Regions from separate parts of the Homo sapiens genome. Here region 2 is linked to region 1. Evidence: promoter capture Hi-C in human tissues and cell types (Jung and others, 2019). All regions are on one chromosome and are shown on one strand. The core of a region is centred on a gene start or on the middle of the fragment in contact, and the rest is flanking DNA. Distances in the headings are between cores, read along the strand shown. Region 1 holds the start of C1orf159 (chromosome 1 open reading frame 159). Region 2 has its middle 9.7 kb from the start of SSU72-AS1.

Evidence for each region. The method cuts DNA at HindIII sites, captures the fragments that hold promoters and counts their contacts. A contact is called where the count stands out against the background at its distance.
Region 2: a fragment that was not itself captured here is called in contact with the fragment with the promoter of C1orf159 in region 1 in 1 of the 25 tissues and cell types used here (dorsolateral prefrontal cortex).

The regions. Positions count from the first base shown.
Region 1 is chr1:1,114,343-1,117,927 of GRCh38, reverse strand. It overlaps C1orf159 (chromosome 1 open reading frame 159), which reads left to right and starts at 1,839. Exons shown (of 10, transcript NM_017891.5): 1 at 1,839-1,868. RefSeq lists silencers at 1,169-1,218, 1,259-1,378, 1,549-2,148. The HindIII fragment of the contact is 14,802 bases long and covers 1-3,585 here.
Region 2 is chr1:1,582,819-1,586,403 of GRCh38, reverse strand. No RefSeq gene overlaps it. Among named protein-coding and RNA genes, the nearest start is that of SSU72-AS1, 9.7 kb to the right of the region's middle. The HindIII fragment of the contact is 3,924 bases long and covers 66-3,585 here.

The DNA.
Region 1 (3,585 bases), core at 590-3,089:
CCCGTCTCTACAAAAAAATAAAGAAATATGTGTCAAGGCATGGTGGCACACACCCGTGGTCCCAGCTACTCTGGAGGCTGAGGTGGAGGATCGCTTGAGCCTAGGAGGTCCAGGCTGCAGTGAGCCACGATCATGCCACTGCATCCAGCCTGGGTGACAGCGTGAAATCCTCTCAAACACAAAAAAACAAAAAGGAAGTGGAAACACTGGCTCAGCTCCACAATGAGTTGCCGCAGACGGCAAGAGCCTGTGGCACAGACTGGACTCCGAGAAGGGGACCGCGACTGTGTCCTCCCCGTGGTCCTCAAACGTCGCCCAGGCCAGGTTCCTCTTAATGGGACCGACACAGAAGCTGCACGTCCGCGGGCGCATGGCCGGAAACCCTGCAGCTGTCAGCGAACCCCTGGTGCTGGGCGCCCACGCCCAGGTGTCCCACGGCCAGACACTGGTGGCATCAACTCCTCCAGAGGCCCTGAGGGAACCCTGGGATGGACCCTCAGGCGAACACTGTCCCTCTAAAGAGAAGACACAAATGTGACTTCCCCAGCTGTCCCCAATACTGTTTACAAAACATCCTCACGCTGTTAAGATGGGGGCTTTATTTCCATTGAAATCTCTGGCATTTAAACTTGGGATGGAACCCGGAGGCGGCGTCCATCAAGGAGGAACAACCCCAAGGCGCATGCAGGACGGGCCTGGGAGCTCCCGGGAGCAAGGGAGCTGGGGGGTCTGGGGGCCTGGGAGGTTGGGGGGTCTGGGGGGTTGGGGGGTCTGAGGGGTTGGGGGTATATGGGGGGTTGGGGGATCTGGGGGTTTTGGGGGGTCTGAGGGGTTGGAAGGGTCTGCGGAGGTTGGGGGGGGCCGCGACACCTGCAGCGCCCCCCCACCCTGCGCGCTGGCCCAGCTAGGAGAGGGCCCGGGGACACCGACAGGATTGAAGCCTTTGATGAGCGGACGGACGTCCCCAGTTCCTTCGGGGAGCTCCTTTAAACATGTTTGCCGAAAGCTGCGGGCGCCGCGGGACGCACAGAGCTGTCTTTTCTCCGAGGGTGGCTCAGAGGCAGAGCCCCGGAAAAACCCACGCGCCCGGCCTGTGGGGCAGCGACGCCGCCCAGACCCCGGGGCCGCCGAGACTCACGGGGGAGCGTCCTGAGACCGCAGAGCCCTGACCCGTCCGAGAGGCGAAGCCCCGGGAGCCCTCTGGGTCCGAGCCGTCCCAGTCCCGCACCCAAGGCAGGGTCTCTCCCGCCGCGCTCCGACACCGGCCGCCGAGGTCCCAGCACTGGCGCCGGCCGCGGACCTGGGGCGCATTTGGCGGCGGCTCGCGAGGCGCTCGGGGCGCTCCGTGGGTCTGGAGGGCGCTGGCCCCGCGCGCCCGCGGCCAAACCTGGTGCAGCCGCGCCGCCTTCTCCGATGAAGCCGAAGCCGCCCCGGCCGCCCCCAAACGCTCCGCCTCCGCCTCCGCCTAAACCGGCGGAACGCTAAGGACGCCGACGCTTGTGCGGTCGCCCGGGAGACCCCGACGACGCCCCGCCCCGTCTCCCGGCAACGCCAAGCAGCCGGCGCGCGAGGAATCCGGGGGAATGTAGTCCCTCCGTGTCAGGGACCCGAGACATGCGCTGGTTCTTCTAGGACTACATTTCCCAGGGCGCTTCGCGCCCCGCCCCGGCGCCCCACCCACGGCCGCGCGCGATGGTACCACCAGGCGAGGGCGGCTCTCGCGCGGGCCGCCGGGAGTTGTAGTTTTCTTTGGGAGCTGCGGGGCCTGGCGCCGGGGCCGGGGCGGAAGAAAGACTACAAGTCCCAGGGGGCGCGGCGCCACCGCCTGAGGGCGGGGTGTACGAAAGAGAAACCCGGAGGGCGCCGGGGTGAGTGAGGGGCTGGGGGCAGGCGTGAGGGTAGCGGGTTGGGGCGCTGGGGTCCGTCTGGGCGGCCGGGTCGGCGCAGGGAGTGCGAGAGGCAGACAAAGGTCGGCGGCCCTGGCCCGGCCCGAGGGACGTTCCCTGCGCGTCCCCCATTGTGCGGCGCGCGGAGGAGCCGCCAGCGCCTGGGCCCGCGTCCTCGTCGCCGCCTCCCAACGAGCCTGGCCGCGGTCCTATGGGGGAAAGGCGCCCGGGCTGAGCGGGACGCCTGGGGAGGGGAAGGGGCGTCTGAGGAGGGCAGGGGGACCCCGGGGAGGGGTGGGGAGGGGGTCCCTAAGGAGGGGAGGGGGTTCCCGGAGCGGGGAGGGGGGGTCCCTGGGGAGGGGAAAGGTTCCCGGGGCAGGGAAGGGGGTCCCTGGGGAGGGGAGGGGGTCCCTGGGGAGGGAGGGGGGTCCCTGGGGAGGGGAAGGGTTCCCGGGGCAGGGAAGGGGGTCCCTGGGGAGGGGAGGGGGTCTCTGGGGGAGAGGGGGCACCTGGGGAGGGGAGGGGGTTCTCGGGGCAGGGAGGGGGTCCCTGGGGAGGGGATGGGACGGGCGCCCGGGGGAAGAAAGGGGGCGCGTTCGCCTCGCCTTCCCGGCAGCCGGGAGTGGGGGCACCGGCGCGGTCCCCGGTGTCCTAGAAGTCGGCCACGATTCAGGTCTTTTTCCCGCGAGGCTTTAGGATTTGTTTTTGTCCGTTTGTCACCTGGAGTAGCCGAGGGCTAGTCGGGGTGCAGTTTTTCGGGAGCGCGTGTTCCGGTGGCAGCGAGTCGATGATTGAGTTTGGGTGTAATTTAAGCCCAGGTGTTCGGGGGCATTTCTTACCGCGTTTCAAAGCAAACGCGGCTTCTTCCCCGGGAACTATTTTGTGGCTGAATTCTTAGCCGCCTCGTCCTGTTAAATTTCAGGATGTCAAACTTGGCCTCCTTTTTTTGGTTTTCATTTTTCTTAGTATTACCAGGGTGTGCAGAGAAGGCAGAGCTGCGTCTTCCTCTTTTATTTTTCCGTAAGTTACTGGGGTACAGGTGGTGTTTGGTTACTTGGTTACATGGGTAAGCTCTTTAGTGGTGATTTGTGAGATTTTGGTGCTCCCATCACCCGAGCAGTACGCACTGCACCCTATTTGTAGCTTTTTATCCTTGTCCCCCTCCCACCCTTCCCTCCGAGTCCCCAAAGTCCAGTGTATCGTTCTTAGGCGTCTTCCTGTTTCCTGATGGCTTAACCTGGGAAACCCTCGCAGAGGGAGCCGGTTTTGAGCCCCAGGGTAGGGGCGGCCGCCTGGGATGTTCAGTGATGCGCCTGATTACTCAGGTTTATGTTCCCCGTTTGCATTCAGCCAGGATCCGTCATGGCCACGTTGTTTTTAACATACATGTTTATGAATTATACAGAAACGTTGTTTTCCTGACACACATCCCGCCCCCAGTACTCCTCCTAAAAGCCAGTCAGGCAGGTGTTTCCACACGCAGTCACCTCAGCCCTGGGGTGCACAGGCAGCATCCCGGGAACCCCTGAGATACCTCCCAGCTGCTCCCTGCCTTGCGGCTGCTCTCCACCTGAGCTTTGACTTACTGGGTAGCTCATTTAAAGAACAGCTAGCGCTGTGGGTGCTGGGGTGGGAGATCGCTTGAGACCAGTCTGGGCAACATAGGGAGACCTCGTCTCTATAAAAAATAAAAAATATT
Region 2 (3,585 bases), core at 778-3,277, 470 kb before region 1:
GGCGGCTCCTCTCCACAGGAAGTCGTTTGGATGTCTCCGCAGGTCTCAGGCTCTCCACAGACAGGGTAGAGGTAGCTCCTCTCTGCTGACAGGTTGTCTGGGCAGCTCTCAGCGGAGGACAGAGGAGAAGGTACTCCTCTCTGCAGCTGGTCATCCTGGTCGCCTCCCTGCCCTCTTCCTCTTCTGGCTGTCCTCTTCGAATAAATATCATTTTCTGCTAGAGAACCCCTCTCTGTTATTTAGTTTGACATAAATGATGCTCTGAAACAGGACCTGAAGGAAGGTCACTTTAAGAAGGAACTGGCGGTTCTTGGAGCCAGTGCCCCATGCTCGCCGAGCCCTATGGGCTCTCTGCTTCCGTGGTTCGCATGCTCTGCCTTGGAGAATCTTCTGTGGCTGTGCTTCCCTCTTTTTAAAATTGCATTTTATTATTATTATTATTATTATTATTATTTAAGACATGGTCTCTCTGTGTTGCCCAGGCTGGAGTGGAGTGGCACAGTGTTGGCTCACTGAAGCCTCAACATCCCAGGCTCAAGCGATTCTCCCACCTCAGCCTCCTCAGTAGCTGGGACCACAGGCTGGTTCTACTATGTCCAGATAATTTTTGTTTGCTTGTTTGTTTTTAAAAAAAGAGTCTTGGCTGGGCGCGGTATCTCACACCTGTAATGCCAGCACTTTGGGAGGCCGAGGCAGGTGGATCACGAGGTCAGAAGTTCGAGACCATCCTGGCTAACACGGTGAAACCCTGTCTCTACTAAAAATACAAAAAATTAGCCGGGCGTGGTGGCGGGTGCCTGTAGTCCCAGCTATTTGGGAGGCTGAGGCAGGAGAATGGCGTGAACCTGGGAGGCAGAGCTTGCAGTGAGCTGAGATTGCGCCATTGCACTCCAGCCTGGGCGACACAGCGAGACTCCATCTCAAAAAAAAAATTAGCCAGGCGTGGTGGCGGGCACTTGTAGTCCCAGCTACTTGGGAGGCTGAGGCAGAAGAATGGCATGAACCCGGGAGGTGAAGCTTGCAGTGAGCCGAGATTGCACCACTGCACTCCAGCCTGGGCAATAGAGCAAGACTCCGTCTCAAAACAAACAAACAAACAAATAAACAAACAAAAAAAGTTAGCTGGACATGGTGGCATGCACCTGTAATCCCAGCTAGTCTAGAGGCTGAGGCAGGAGAATCGCTTGAACTCACAAGGCAGAGGTTGCAGTGAGCCAAGATTGCACCGCTGCACTCCAGCCTGGACTGCAGAGTGAGATTCTGTTTCAAAAGAAAACAAAACAACAACGAAAGTTACTGGGTCTGTCGCCACCATCTGAAACAGTGGTCCATGTGCTTGACAATTCCTGATAGGATCTATGGAAGCTTCTTTGCTCTTCAGAAAATAAGAAGAAATGAAATGGGATTCTCAAACATTAAGTCACAGCAGATTTTTTGGTTCTCCAGCAGGCTATATTATGGCCCAACTTGGGCAAACTGTACTTATTTATCTTTCTTTTTAATTTTTCTCAGCTTCTGTTCTGCTCTAACTCAGGCACATTTTAAAACTGATGGGTGGCCAGGCACGGTGGCTCACGCCTGTAATCCCAACACTTTGGGAGGCTAAAGTGGGAGGATCACGAGGTCAGGAGTTCGAGACCAGCCTGGCCAACATGGTGAAACCCCGTCTCTACTAAAAATACAAAAAATTAGCCAGGCGTGGTGGCACACGCCTGTAATTGCAACTACTCAGGAGGCTGAGGCAAGAAAATTGCTTGAACCCGGGACGCAGAGGTTGCACTGAGCCAAGATCATGCCACTGCACTCCAGCCTGGTCGACACAGCAAGGCGCTGTCTCAAAAACAAAAACAAAAACAAAAAAACCCCAAAACTGGCCGGGCACGGTGGCTCACGCCTGTAATCCTGGCACTTTGGGAGGCTGAGGTGGGTGGATCACAAGGTCAGGAGACTGAGACCATCCTGGCTAATCGGTGAAATCCCGTCTCTACTAAAAATACAAAAAATTAGCCGGGTGTGGTGGTGGGTGCCTGTAGTCCCAGTTACTCGGGAGGCTGAGGCAGGAGAATGGTGTGAACCTGGGAGATGGAGCTTGCAGTAAGCTGAGATTGCGCCACTGCACTCCAGCCTGGGCCACAGCGAGACTCCGTCTCAAAAAAAAAAAAAAAAAATTAATTGGCGGGCGCGGTGGCTCACGCCTGTAATCCCAGCACTTTGGGAGGCCGAGGCGGGCGGATCATCTGAGGTCTGGAGTCTGAGACCAGCCTGACCAACATGGAGAAACCCCATCTCTACTAAAAATACAAAATTAATGGCGCATGCCTGTAATCCCAGCTACTCGGGAGGCTGAAGCAGAAGAATTGCTTGAACCCGGGAGACAGAGGTTGTGGTGAGCTGAGATCATGCCATTGCACTCCAGCCTGGGCAACAAGAGCAAAACTCCATCTCAAAAAAAAAAAAAAAATTTTTATGCTTTGGGGCAGTGGCAGTGGTAACGGGGCTGTGTGCAGGAGGAGCATCGATCGGGCAGGGTGGATGTGGGCTGGGGCAGCCCCGGGTCCCAGGCCCTGCAACGGTGTGCAGGGCGGGAGTGCCCAGTCGGGCTGCATTCCCAGGTGCACGGCGTGCCACTGAGCTGCTCACGTAGCTGCCACCATCTGTGCTGGGCCCAGCCGAGACGCAGAACCTCGTGGACATGACCTAGGAAGACCCAGACAGTGTGCCCCACGGATGTCCTGGATCAAAGGGACCCAGGTTGGTGATTACTTCTACTCCTTTGGCGGCTGTTATTGGCACGCAGCCTACCGGTAGCTGCAGCAAGGGCCATCCTGGACAAGCTTGTGCAGTCCACCCTCTCGGACCTCAGGGTGTACCTGGGGGCATCCACGCCAGACTTGTAGGAGCAGTCCCCATGGCACCGACTGACACTTCTAAGAGCCCAGAAGATACATCTGGCCCCCGTAGGCTGGGCTGGCAGAAGGGATAGCTGAGATGCGTTCTCTTTGCACTTGGTGGGGAGGGTCTGACTCGAGACACTTCCCCAACAGTAGGGAATAAAATTGTCATGGTTGAATAGACCGATTGTGGATTGTGTTCCATCTACTGAGACTGGCACACTGCCTCCTGAAATGAAAGTGGATCTCATCACCAGAGGAGAAATGAGGAACTGCGTATCAGCTAGCCTTCACTGTGTAACAGACCATCCCAAAATTTGGCAGCAAAAACAGGTCACGTATTTGTCCACAATTCTGTGGGTTGGCAATCTGCACTGGGCTCACCTGCGGACCCTCATGGAGCTGTGGTCATTTGTCACATCCGCTACACCTGGATGGTCTAGGACAGCCTGACTCACTTGTCTGGCAGGTGACAGGTTGTTGGTTGGGGTGGCCTGTCTAGCAGGCTGCTTCAGCCTTAGGGCTCCAGGAGAGTGAGAGTAGAAGCTGCAAGATTTCTTGGGTTCTGGGCCTGGAACTGGGGCTGGGACAACGTCAGTTCTACTAAGTTCTTTTGATCAGAGCAAATCACAAGGCTTTGCCCGGATTCAAGGGATGAGAAAGAGACCGTATGTCTTGATGAGAGGAACCACAA